Regions from separate parts of the Homo sapiens genome. Here all the other regions are linked to region 3. Evidence: promoter capture Hi-C in 16 types of primary human blood cells and fetal thymus (Javierre and others, 2016). All regions are on one chromosome and are shown on one strand. The core of a region is centred on a gene start or on the middle of the fragment in contact, and the rest is flanking DNA. Distances in the headings are between cores, read along the strand shown. Region 1 holds the start of C11orf58 (chromosome 11 open reading frame 58). Region 2 holds the start of HIKESHI (heat shock protein nuclear import factor hikeshi). Region 3 holds the start of API5 (apoptosis inhibitor 5).

Region 1 (4,680 bases), core at 624-3,123, about 27 Mb after region 3:
GAAGCAGGAGGATCACCTGAGCCAGGGAGGTGGAGGCTGCAGGGAGCACTGATCGATCGTGCCACTGCACTCCAGCCTGGGCGACAGAGACCCTGTCTCACCTGTCTCAAAACAAAAACAAAACCCAGGTACTTAAAGATACGCTTATATGATTGGGAAAGGTCTTCAAGGTCGTCTAGTTTAAACCGACCTCTTCCGAAGCTGTAAACTTAATGACTTAATCCCTTTAACTTTGTTAAATTTCATATCACCTGGAGTTTTCTGTCACGCTAAAAGATATTTCCAAACAGGTGTCTGATATCCTAGCAATCAAGTCACATTTAAAGATCAGGAGGAAAACAATGTAACAGCTTTTTAAGTGGCAGCCAGGTTACTCAAAAGTGTGGATCAATTCCTGACAAAACCTGAATTACCATATTAACAAGATCTAAAATCCAGTAGCAGAAATAACAGAGAGCAAGAATAAACTTCTCTAGGTGCCCATTCATCCCCAAATCTTTACTGATTGCTAATCTTTCTGCAGAGCTGAAGTCGATTCCTTTAAAGATCCTTAATATTCCGGTCCTCGCCCCACCTCCCATCAGAGGGGTAGGTCTTAACATTATCTCATTTGCTACAAAGTAGTATTCAGTGGGCTTTTAAAATTTTATGAAGAGCGTTGAAATGCACTATCGAAAAATTTAAAGCTCTATGTATTCAGAAATTGACAGTACTTTAAACAAAACCGAAAAAAAACCTAGATATCCCTTCATCTTCCTTAAAGATGACCTCTCCGCGCTCTCTCCAACAATTTTCCCCATCAACGTTGCCAAGACACTTATCCATTGTATGAAGGACCTAGTTTTACGTTTACTGGTTACCTACCGTTTCCATGACACTGGGCTAGGAGCTAGGACAAATATACAAAAAGGCCTAAAATAAGCATCATATTTCTCTCCGAATTCCCAACACCCGGCAGTGCAGTAAATATTTAACGGGTTACTTTAAGGGATAAACCGTTTGCTATTAAAACCTATGAGGTGAGGGCTGAGGAAGGGAACGGCATTTGATGGGGAGACGAGGTAAGAAGAACGAGGTATTAATATCCGACATCAAAATGGGCTTCTAGGTCTCAACGTCTTAGACCTCACCACCAGAGCCAGTACCAAATTACACCCGTGGCACAATTTTCGGCTCAATACTGTTCTCGGTTTACCCTTACTAGTGCAGCTAAAGTTAACTCTCAACAGCACATTGTAAAAATCATCCAGGCAGGAAAAATCTGTACAAACGTGCACGAACATTTCGACATTGTCACGGGAACATTTAGAACCCAAAACAGGGAGAGTCTTGCCGTCTCTATACTGAGTACAAAGGCCCGAGAAAGCACTCTCATCGGCCCCCCAAAACGCACGTACGAAATCCCTTGACTAAGCTCTTTCACTCCTCGACCCTCTCAGAATTTCCTTCCTCAATCCCCCTTCCTACGCAGGTCTCCGGCTCTCAGCGTGTGGGCCTCTTCAAACCTTCTGACCCTCATAAAGATTAAGGGAGGCATTTCCCACTCATTCTTCTGGTTTCTTCCCTGGGCTCTCCCGCTGCAGGCCACCTCAGGCGCGTCCTCCTCCAACCACCCTTCCCGGCCTACTCCAGGCTTTAGTAGGCCTCAACCCTCAGCCACTCCGCCATTATTATTTACATCGTCGTCTGGGGAGGCTGAACGCTTCACCCCATGCGGGTGAGACTCTCTGGCAGCACTCATCCTTGCGGGGATCCCGACGAAAAATGCCGAACCCTCTCGCCGCTCTTCCCAGCCGCAAAACCAGCAGCTTACAATCCGCCAAGGGCCCAAGCAGCGCCACTACAGAACGCAGAGCCCCTCCGGGCCTTCTCTGCCACAGTCGTCACCGTTGCGGCCCCTCGCCGCCCCGGGGCACTTTGGGAGTTGTAGTTTTCTGATTCATTGCATACTGGCCCGAATAAAAAAGATGTGTCCGTGACTAAAACTACAATTCCCAGGAAGCCCCGAGGCTCAATTCGCGCTGTGTGGCGGGAGTGCCCTCAGAGGCCCCGCCTTCGGCTGGTGGAGGAAGCGTTCCCGCGGATGTGTATGGCGGTGAGCGTTGGCCGAGAGCTTTGTCGCCACAGGAGGAGGCTTAGAGGGGTTTTTGCCTTTCACCGTGCAACGCTGCCCTACTGGCAAATGTATCATCGTAGCTAGGCACCTATGTTTAAATGTAATGTTTGAGGCTGACTGAATCCTCACGAATACCCTCCACCCAGGACAAAAACCTTAACCAAAAATGGCTTCTACCATTTCCACCCTGGTGTTCTCTATTGCGCGCAGGGGATTTCTAGGTGGTCGGTGATGCTGCTTTCTAAATGTTTTCATGAATATTTCGCTGTTTTCCCATACAGAAATGAGTTCAGTATGTTGTTAAATGTTGGCTAATTGGCGGTTGTTGAAAACGGGGATTTAGCTGAGGGAAATCTGTTAAGTTTTCATATGGCTTTGTGTGAGGTGGGAGTGCTCCTCACTGACCTCGCTGTGGATGTCTGGGCACCGTTACAGTAGGGGCCTTCACCAAGCAAAGTCCATCCCTGCCACAAAAGCCTCTATTTTTTTTCTTTTTTAAAAAAAGTAATTATTGAGGTTAAATTCACATATAAAATTAACCATTTTTTAAAAAGTGTACAATCCACTGTCACTTAGTACATTCACAATCGTGTGCAGCTGTCACCTCTGATTCCAAGAAGTTTCACCACTCCAAAAGGAACCCCAATGCCCGTTAGCAATCCCTCCCCATTTCTCGCCCTCTCTCCAGATTCAAGTGATCACTCCTCTACTCAAAAAGCCCTGCATTTAAAGCTATTTATTGTTCAGATACTGAAGACTATCTCCTACTTTATTAAGGTGTCTGAATTTGTAACCAGGTCTGAACTTAACTTTCTGTCAGAATCCTTGTCCTTAATAATTCTGAAGCTTTCTCACCTTGAATACAAATGTGATTTTTTTTTTTTTTAAGCAAAAATTAGGCCTGGCGCCATGGCTCAGGCCTGTAATCCCCAGCATTTTGGGAGGCTGAGGCGGGTGGATCACGAGGTCAGGAGTTCGAGACCAGCCTGATCAACATGGTGAAACCACGTCTCTACTAAAAATACAAAAATTAGCCTGGCATGATGGCACATGCCTCTAATCCCAGCTACTCGGGAGGCTGAGGCAGGAGAATCGCTTGAACCCGGGAGGCGGAGGTTTCAGCGACCCAAGATGGCGCCACTGCACTCCAGCCTGGGTGACAGAACGAGACTCGGTCTCTAAATAAATAAATAAATAAATAATAAGTGGTATGGATAATACATATCTGCTGTTTCAGAACTGAGAGCAGTCTGTGAAACAATGCTTAGCTATTAGCTTTTGAACTCAGCAATTGCTCTAGTTTCACTGCCTGTGTACAAATATTACTTACCTAGATTTCAGATCCTCACTGAACTGTGACCAGTGGAAGGTAGTTTTTAAATTTATGCAGTCATAGATTCAAATTCTCCCTTATTTTGGAAGCAGAAAAATAGCATAATAGTAAGTACTATAATAGAAAAAGAGATGTCAGGGTTACATTTTATAAGTATAACCAAACAAAGAACATCTTAATGGTTCTGTGGTAAGAATAAATCATAAAGGAGGAGGAGAGTAAACCCAAGAGAAAAAAAAGAAACATTGTTTTAGGAAGTGGTTGATTGCTTTTTGCTAGAATTAAAATATTTTCACTACTACATAATTCTACTTAGGTTCTATTAGTTACAATGAAATTACATTTAAGTTACAGAGTTTTGCAGTTTCGACTACAGTTCACCTCTAATGGGTTTGACAAATGGTGATTTAGAACTATTAGCTATATTACCAAAACAAATAAGATGGCTGAATAGGTACTTTAGACTGCTAAAAGATTTCTGAAATAAGAAAGGATTGTCAATAAGAATAGTAGTTACTATATAATTTTAATTTTACTAGTTGGTGAAAGTCCAGAAAACTTTAATGAGCTAGCAACATGTCTTTTATTTCTTCACCAGAATTGTTGGCACCTGGATGGTAAATCTTCAAGTTACTGTGAAACAAGATCACAAACGAAAAAGTAACATAGGAAATACTAAAGACTGGGACATTTTATCAGATTTTACTCAGTTTCATATACAGAAGGCTATAGGTAAGGATGAAATTATACAGTGTAATAGAATGCATATATGCCACAGAAACTCAGTAATGCTCCTCTTTCTTGTATTGTAAAAACAAAGATACACTATCATGAGTGAAACAATGAAATACCTCCTTCAGAATTGGGACTGTTGCATCTGCATTTTTGTTTCTGGCGCAATGCCTGCCACACGGTAGTTAATAAATGTTTCTGAATTAATATAGGAAGGATGAAATTATATAGTACCAGAGTGGTATCTTATATGAGGCCTAGAAACTCAGCAATGTTCTTCTTTCTTGGGTAGTAAAGACAAGGAGAGGAGGCCCTGTCACTGAGAACTTTACATTTTTTTAAATTTTCCCAACATTTAGCATGTAGTGGGCAGTCACAGATGTTTGTCGAGTACGTGCTCTCAACCAGGGATAGTCATGATTGACCATAGTTAAAACTGAAGAGGAAATAAAGGCTTTGAAGATTATGCTGTGTACAAAAAATCTGCTGTTTCACTTGA
Region 2 (4,606 bases), core at 1,351-3,850, about 43 Mb before region 3:
CAGTAGTAAAAAATGTGAGTTGTAGGCCTGGCACAGTGGCTCATGCCTGTAATCCCAGCACTTTGGGAGGCCAAGGCGGGTTGATCACCTGAGGTCAGGAGTTCCAGATCAGCCTGGCCAACATGGCGAAACGTAGTATCTACTAAAAATATAAAAATTAGCTGGGCATGGGGGCACATGCCTGTAGTCTCAGCTACTCAGGAGGCTGAGGCATGAGAATTGCTTGAACCTGGAGGCGGAGGTTGCGATGAGCAGAGATCACACCATTGCACTCCAGCCTGGCTGACAGAGTAAGACTCCGTCTCAAAAAAAAAAAAAAAAAAAAAAGTGAGTTGTGCAACTCACACACTGGCAGCTGAGGTAGAACATGCCATCTTGTTTCAGTCCTCGTAATATGAAAAAGTGTCCTTTTCACAGTCTCATCTATTTAAAGCATTTTTGTGATTTTTGTTGGTGATCGTGCTGTTTAAAATGACCAAGTTCAAGTGCTGGCTAGTCTTCCTAAGTGCAAGAAGGCTATGACATGCCTTACAGAGAAAATATGTGTGTTAGGTAAGTTTTCCCTCTATAATATCCTATCTACCGATACAAATAAACTTAGGAAAAATATACTGCTATGTAATTTCAACTATCTATTAGTTATAAAGTAGTATCAACTGGCTGCCCTAAATTAAGTCTCAAGATACAAAGGCAGTGTTCCTAAAGTCAAATTCTGATTCCCTCTTCAGAAGTATTCTGACCCACTTTAAAATCCTCCAGCTTTAGTATAAAGAATAAAACAAAGGAATAACACAAACCAAATGGCCTGTATTAGTATTAAATTCAATTTCACCAGTCTTTGGCATGCATATAACCTAAAAAGCATGGGAAATTATTATTTATGAGTCTTGAAATAACCACCAGGCAAAATAAATATTTCTTAAGTGTCAACTTTGTATAGGTACTGAACAGTCTGCAAATCTGTATCATCACACTCTAATTTTTGACATTAAGAAAAGGTGTATCTCTTTAAGAAAAAAAATCTTAAGAAATAAAAACTGGGTTCATAAGTTTAGATAAGTAGATTTTTCTTATAACAGAGTCGTGTAGTTAAGTTTTGAGATGCCACTAGGTCTATTTGTCCTTCACTTTGATGTGTCCTAATACTCCATAATTAAAGGACCAAGTATCCCCAATATATAGAGGCAGGTATTACCATAACTAAATTTCCTTCCAAATTAGTTGACAACGTGAGAGATACATGGATTCCAAATAGGCTTTTTATTCTTTAAGAAACACAATTTTAATGTCATTCATTAATAACACTCACTCGTCTGAGTCACACAATCATTCCAGGTTTGTCCTTTTTCCCTATTAAGAGCAGGGCAAAATTATCTCACCAGGATTATGAATTACCACCATCACCACAGGGGTCTCCCAGTCATTCAAGAGACAAACTTTATGAGGCTAGTCATCTCCAACTTATCTTTCTGGCTTCTTAGAACTGTATATGTACAGAATACAATACATTATCAAAACTTGATGGGAAAAAAAGACAATTCAGCAAAGGGACTGCAACATTTTAAAAAGCCAGGAGAAAAAAGAAGGAAAAATACTTCTAGGGGAAAGGAATCAGGCCTGAAAATTGATGTCTGTGTGGTTTCTAAGGAAACAAACAAGATTCACCTTCCAGATTATTCCTAAAGAATTCCAGGTGCTGTTCTCATTTACTCTAACAATTTGGCAAGGTAAGTTATCTATTTTGACCCATAAGGAAACACACTACTCGCATCCTTCTCTGGTTATCTCAGATACGGCTCACACGTTAAGTTTCAGCCAACTTCCAATTAAATTAAGCTTATTTTTACTCGGGTTCTTCCAAAGGGACCCAAAAGATATACATTCCCTGAGCACCTTAATCTTTGAAAAACAGTTTGCTATAGACCAAATTCAATCCCAAATTCACCTCTACCTCAAGTTAATAAAGAAGGTATTTATACTGGCGATTGAACTTAGTTCTGTAACTGCAAAATGTCAAAGATAAAGACCATCTCACGAGTTATGAGGATTAAGTTCAAAGTGCCAAATAAGCGCCACACATAAGGCTGAGTGACCAAAGGCGTGCATTGCACTTAGCCCAGTACTTGGTACAAAATGCACACTTAATAAATGCCAACTTATACTGTGACTACTATTCGAAAGAATCTGAATAGAGCTGGGCAAAGGAGAGCACCCAGCTTCCCACGCTCCATCCTCACATACCCACCCAAAATATAATAAGTGGGCTTCCCCGCATCCCTAGCGCCTGCGCACCCTCCCTGCCGTAGGGCTTCGCCCTCGGTATCCTGACCCCTTCCTGATATCACCCGGTCCCATCCTCACCAGCCTCCCCGCCACCAAGCAGCCAAACATGGCGACGGCAGCTCCGTTCAGCCGGCAGTGACCTGAAGCCGGCGACTAGGAGTCCTGGGGCTACTGCCCTAGTCGAGACTAAGAACCTTCCAGAATTTGCGGGAGGGTGTCTGCCCCTCCACTACATAGTGACTGGGCCAGCGGCAAGAATGCCTCTGCCCCCGCGAACTCTGACCTTCTCTTCCTAAGCAGCCCACTGCTCAGGCAACAAGTACTTCCGGGGCTTACACCCGGTTTTCCCCACTAAGGAAGAAAGGCGGGCCAGCGCCAGTACAAGACTACAAGTCCCAGAACAAGTCCCAGAGGGCACCGCGCCAGTTTCCGGGAAGGTAAGCCTGGAGGCTTTGCACACTGGGATCGGTAGTCCGGGTGTTTTATAGCCACAAAATCTGTGGATCCTTCATTTCCATGTACAATCCTGGGAAGAGATGCTTCTAACGTTTCTGTGACATCTGAGAGATTAACGGTGCACTTTTACAATAATCACGTCACTAGATCTTTACAAAAACCCTATGAGGTAAGTATTATAATCCAAATTTTATAGGAGTGATCAGCCTCAAATCTTTACACAGCAGTAAATGTTGGAGGCTGAATTCAAGTCCTAATCCAAATCCGGGTTTCTTTCTGCTACACAGTGTCTCAGAAGTATTAATCTTTAACCAATTGTTTTGTACTTGTCTACAATTTATAGTAGTTCTTTCCAGCTTCACTTAGTTCTCCCATTCATTTGCTGTACAATTGTGGACGAGTTGTAGATGTCTTTGTGCTTCAGTGCCCCTCCTTTGCAAAAGACAAATAATGAGCCTATTGCCTAGGGTTGCTGTGAGGATTAAATGAGCTAATATGTATAAAACACTTAAAACAGTGCTTGGCTGTGCTTAATTAGTGGGAGTTTTATTGTAAAAATGTCTATTTTTTTTCTATGTGGATCTGCAGAAAAGTTTCATAGGAAATACAAAACAATAGCCAAAAAAAAAAAAAAAAATACTGGCATTAAGTACCGATTGCCACCAATACTTATTCTCCCTTTCACAGCTCCAATTCCTTTTCTTCTTGAATAGGATAGTAAAGGGTCTCTGTCCAATTTGAAATATCTGAGCTTGGCCACCAGCCGTAAAGCAGGTCTGTCTTCCCAGTTCTCAGTTTATATATGGGGGATCAGTGTTTGGAACAGTCCTCTGGCCTCCACTGTGGATCCCTAAACTGATCACCTATCTTATCACCGATACTCCTTTGAGATAGCTGTGCCAAAGGTGAAGAGGTAGGAAAGGATCTACCAATGTTTCCAACTTACTATCTAAAAAGTCCTAGAACCTTCAGAATAAAAAGGCCATTCATATGAAGACCACTTCATAAATTAAGGCACCCACACTACCTGGGTTCAGAGCCCATCTCTGCCATTTATTAGTTACATAATCTCAGGCAAGTTAACCTAACACTCCCATACCTCCTTTTCCCCATCTTTAAAATGAAGTAATAGTAGTATCTACCTCATAAAGTTGTTTTGAGGGTTCTTACACGTAAAGTACTCAATAGTGGCCAGAATGTAGCTTACTCAATAAATGTTAATATTTAGCATTATTGCCTTTCCTAACTAATTTTCCATGTCTTCTTCATACCCACCTTGTGCACTAGCCATACTTTTGAATTCTCTGAGCAACTCCTACTTTTAAATTTGTATGTGCTTATGCAACTTGTTTTATCTCCCTGTAATATTCACTTGGTTATTTCTTACACATCCTCTCACTTTTCTTCACTAACCTTTCTATGACCCACCTGATAGTCATTTCTTCTCCTACCCAGCAATCTTATATTTAGTGGATTGAGAACTAGCTAGCTTAGAATTTTTTTTATAAATTACAGATGATGTTTATTAATTGTCTCAATCTCTGTTATGTGAGATATGAGCTTTTTCTCCATTTTGCTGGTCAACTGTCTTAGTTATAGATTGTACAAAGAGTTAGAGGCAGTGAGTACAGTATCATATCTCTAGAGTAGCCAGTATTCCAGCTACCAAACTATATTATTTGTACATACAGTAGTTCTTTGTAACTTCTGCGGGCAGAACTAGATACAGTGTGAGGAAGTGAAAAAATGTTTCAGGGAAAAAAATCTTTCCAATAATCAGAGCTCTCTGAAATAAGAATAGATAGTCATGGAATAGAGTGAATGCTCCTATTCACATTGATATTGTAACCAATGCTGAAATCCACTT
Region 3 (4,794 bases), core at 417-2,916:
TTTGCTATTTCAAACTGGTATATTCTTAATTCTAGATTAAGCTACAATAAATCTCCAACATGAAATTTTTTTTTTTTCGTTCAGCTCAGAAAAGTCCTATTTGAATTATGTTAAGAAAAGGGGACGGGAAAGGTACTCCCACGACTGTTAATAGACTAGAATCTTCCACTTTCTCCAAGAAGGGATGCGTAAGCAGAAAAATCACAAAGTTCTAAGCGCTGAAAAGCTATGGTGTGGGATTTCTAAAACAATGATCAAGGTTACCTCCAGGAGAGCCTGGTTCTTTTCCCAAGAACACACATACCCAACCACTTATCAAGTTCAATGTACTCCAGTACTTGAAAACTCATACAGGGAACAAATGACTTGTATGGATAATTCAACACTGCTGAGAAACTGTGTATCGGGGGCAAGCATCGTTAAGAGAGCTCTTCCAGACAACTCCATTCAGAGCTGCGCACTCACACTCTCCTTCGCCCAGCCCTGTTTTATTTTCTTCAAACATGTTTCATTAAAAAGAATAAATTTTTAAAAAAAACCTTTTTTTTTTTTTTTGAGACGGGGTCTTGCTTTGTCTCCCAGGCTGGAGTGCAGTGAAGCGATCTCGGCTCACCGCAACCTCTGCCTCCCGGGTTCAAGCAATCCTCCCACCTCAGCCTCCTGAGTAGCTAGGATTACAAGCGCGTGTCACCACGCCCGGCTAATTTTTGTATTTTTAGTAGAGACAGGGTTTCACCATGTGGGTCAGGCTGGTCTCGAACTCCTGACCTCGTGATCCGCCCGCCTCGGCCTCCCAAAGTGCTCGGATTACAGGCGTGAGCCACCAAGCCGGGCCTCACAATGCCTATCTTTCTTACTACACTCCCTCCTAACTGTACATTCTGGGAGAGCGCGGACCTTTCCATCTGTATCTCCAGCGCTCGGCACTCAAAAAAATGCACTGAATAAATGAAACCGTGAGCTCTCATCAAAGTCTGGACCAAAGAGTCCCTCTTCTGTTTCTCACAAACTTCTGTCTCCTAAACACTCTTCTTCAATTAGTAGCAGAATTTTGCCTCCCCCCCAAAAAAAACACATCTTGACCTCATGAAGAAAACTCCCGATCTAATCTTGGAAGCACTGAGCTCCACCGAAAAGGAGAAAGGCTTAAGAGAATCCTGTAGAGAAAAGCTCCGTGAGAAGAATTAACGTGAGCCTGAACGGGCTGAGTTAGGTTACGCCACGGTGAGAAAAGGCTGGGCAAGGGAGGCAAGGAAGCCTGGAACCCTGGGGACCGCGGTCTCCCTGGTGAAACCAGAGTCTACACTCCCAGAGAGGCCCACCCCGACGAGACGGCCTGAGGAGGCTAGGAGGCCCCGGGAGGATGAAGCCGCAGCCCCCGCTCGGCCCGGGGAGTGCGGCGGGAAGCGCTTTCGAAAGGCCGCGGAGCGCCAGGCCCTGCAGGCCGCCCGGGGACTCAACTCACCTGGCCCACTTGCTCCGTGGCATCGGCCAGGATGCCATAATTGCGGTAAAGCTCCTCTACTGTCGGCATGGTGAGCGACAAGCCCAGGGCCCGGTTCCGCTATCCTTGTCCTGACCGGCGCCACCGCCGCCTCGGAACTTCTCCAAACCCACTACCCGCACTATTACACCTCCAGCTGCCGCCAGTGCAGCCGCCAGTCACCGCGCACAGCGCGGCTGCGCCCCCGACGTCTACGTAAAGACGCGCACGTCGGGAGCGGCCTTCAGTAGACACCCCCCACCCCAATGCGCCTCCGCGGTTTTTGTCGCCCTCTACAGCCTGGAGGAGCAAAAAAGCGGCAAGGATGATTGAATTAGCTCACGCCTTTTTGAAAGCTTGAGCTTGGCTGCAGGCTCTCCATGGAAGGGGTGTGGGTGGGCGGGGAAGTGAATACAAAGACAATTGCGTTTCTGCCCTTAGAAGATCTTACATATGAGAAGTCACAAATGGTTTCCTCCTGATTCAAGGAAGGTAATATTAATCGGTGGCACTAGAGGCTAGTGGGTCCGGTGGGAAGCAAAAAACATTCCTATGCTATTAAAAAACCCTCTGTGTCCACCACGCTCATCAAGTGCGGGGTCAAATTTGGCCTGCTGGAAGAATTTGCTTATCTTTGCTGCCAGTGTAAAGAATTGGGGCCACCTGATTATGTCCAGTATCCAAAAGAATAATAAATAAATGAAATCACGTACGCTTACTGATAAGAATTTCTAAGATACAAGTTTAAATGAAATTATATATATAATATGATATAATATATAATATTTTATATATTATATAATATATAACATTATATATTAATATATAATAATTTTATATATTATATAATATATAATATTATATATTAATATATAATATTATATATTATATAATATATAACATTATATATTAATATATAAATATATAATATATAATATAAATATAATAATATTATATTAATATATAAATATATAATATATAATATAAATATAATAATATTATATTAATATATATTAAGATAATAATATTAATTAATACATTAATTATATAATATAATTATAATATATCTATATATTGAGATATAATATTAATTAATATATCAATATTATCAATTATATATTATAATTATCTTATATTATATATAATATATTAATTATATAATTAATATATTAATATTATTATCTTAATATATATTAATATATTATTATATTTATATATCATATATAATATTATGATATTAATATTATAATATATATTATATATTATATTATATATACAATTATATATATAATATATATTATATATTGTATATTATTATATAATTATATATTAAGATAATAATATATATTAAGATAATAATATATTATATATATTAAGATAATAATATATATTATATATATTAAGATAATAATATATATTTATATATTAAGATAATTATATTTATATAATAATATTATATATATATATAGCCGTGTGCGGTGGCTAACGCCTGTAATCTCAGCACTTTGGAAGGCTGAGTTGGGTGGATCACTTGAGGTCAGGAGTTCAAGATCAGCCTGGTCAACATGGTGAAACCCTGTCTCTACTAAAAATACAAAAATTAGCCAGGCGTGGTGGCATGCACCTGTAGTCCCAGCTGCATGAGAGGCTGAGGCAGAAGAATTATATGCACATAGGAGGCAGAGGTTGCAGTGAGCCCAGATCATGCCACTGCAATCCAGCCTGGGCCACAGAGCAAAACTCTATCTCAAAAAAATTAAAAGAAAAAGAAAAAGAAAAAGAAAAAGAAAAGTTAAAAGGCAGGTATAAGATGATCCCATTATGTAAAACATACAAAGCATACAAAACAAAGTTATGTGTGTATGTGTAAAAGGATGTTAAAGGATGTTAACATTTCAGGATTGAAATATCAAACTATAATAGACTGTAAATTTCAAAGCCACATCCACTTGTACAGAACATACACGGGAAATGATTACAAAAGAACTCCCCGGCTCTTGTACTTCTCAGTTAGATTGAGGATAAATCTCACATCCTAAAAAGGATTAGAGCTGAGCGTGATAGCCAACAGTCCCAGCTATTTGGGAAGCTAAGCGGGGAGAACCACTTGGGCCCAGGAGTTCAAGTCCAGCCTGGGCAACACAGCACGACCCCTGTCTGAAAATAAGAAATCAAGTGTAAAATTCAATGTTAAAAAAAATTGCAGGCCAGGCGCGGTGGCTCACGCCTGTAATCCCAGCACTTTGGGAGGCTGAGGCGGGCGGATCACGAGGTCAGGAGATCAAGACCATCCTGGCTAACACGGTGAAACCCTGTCTCTACTAAAAATACAAAAAATTAGCTGGGTGTGGTGGTGGGCGCCTGTAGTCCCAGCTACTTGGGAGGCTGAGGCAGGAGAATGGCGTGAACCCGGGAGGTGGAGCTTGTAGTGAGCCGAGATTGTGCCACTGCACTCCAGTCTGGGTGACAGAGCAAGACTCTGTCTCAAAAAAAAAAAAAAAAAAAAAATTGCAATTTGGACTCTTGTGGAGAAAAAGAAAAAGAATTAGAGAATAAAATGAGAATTGGTGATTTTTTTATTTTTATGTTTTTGAGAAAGATGTCTTGTGAGTAGGTTGAGGGCAATTTCTACCCCCTTCCCTCAAGCGTGGGGCCATTTTGAGGAGCCTGAAATATGGTCCCAGGTGGTTGAGAAACACAAAGGACTGGACACGCCTGATAAGCTCAGGTTACCCGTGACTGCAGAGTGGAGGTGGCCATGTTGGGATCTACCGTGTTCCCAGATTTTGCTGGAGCGAGGGGATGGGAGTGATTCCCTTATAGCAGAGATGAGCCATATAAAAGAGAAAGAGATTCTGGATTCATTTTGAGTCCTTCTGCCTGAGAGTAAGAAAGCCCCCATGGCGAGAGTCAATGGCGCAGAGAGTGGTGACTGCGAGCAGCACATCAACACCTCACGGGAGTCACCGTTGGGAGTGGCCTCTAAAGGCCCCTTGGAGTGGCCCACAGGACAGACCTGGTCTCTATCAGACCAGAGAGAGCCTGTGGTATTGCACTGTCCAGACCTTTCCGAGGTTCTCCTCTTCCTTTCTTCTCATGTTCCCCTCTCAATGCATTTGCGCAGGAGGGGTCAGAAGCTGCCCACCAAACTGAGTGGAGGATACAGAGAAGAAAGGCAAGATAGGGAGCGGCCTCAGCTGGAGAATAGAAGAAGATCTGATTGGAAATTAAGTTTGGATTCACATGTTGGAATGGACGTTTTAATTTCTGAAGCAGAAAAGGCCTGGGTCTGCCAGAATTTCTCTCTAGGG

The links. Contacts are between HindIII fragments. The CHiCAGO score rates a contact against its expected background, and 5 or more counts as called.
Region 1: a contact is called between the fragment with the promoter of C11orf58 here and the fragment with the promoter of API5 in region 3, in 1 of 17 cell types (total B cells). The highest score is 13.1, in total B cells.
Region 2: a contact is called between the fragment with the promoter of HIKESHI here and the fragment with the promoter of API5 in region 3, in 1 of 17 cell types (non-activated CD4 T cells). The highest score is 6.0, in non-activated CD4 T cells.

Annotation. Positions count from the first base shown.
Region 1 is chr11:16,735,840-16,740,519 of GRCh38, reverse strand. C11orf58 (chromosome 11 open reading frame 58) reads right to left here and starts at 1,873. Exons shown (of 5, transcript NM_014267.6): 1 at 1,679-1,873. The coding sequence starts at 1,741. It also overlaps a transcript of SOX6 not described here. RefSeq lists an enhancer at 1,370-1,999. The HindIII fragment of the contact is 4,072 bases long and covers 1-2,964 here.
Region 2 is chr11:86,300,234-86,304,839 of GRCh38, reverse strand. HIKESHI (heat shock protein nuclear import factor hikeshi) reads right to left here and starts at 2,600. Exons shown (of 5, transcript NM_016401.4): 1 at 2,362-2,600. The coding sequence starts at 2,391. The HindIII fragment of the contact is 4,753 bases long and covers 1,839-4,606 here.
Region 3 is chr11:43,308,868-43,313,661 of GRCh38, reverse strand. API5 (apoptosis inhibitor 5) reads right to left here and starts at 1,666. Exons shown (of 14, transcript NM_001142930.2): 1 at 1,466-1,666. The coding sequence starts at 1,534. RefSeq lists an enhancer at 1,138-1,913. The HindIII fragment of the contact is 11,672 bases long and covers 1-1,841 here.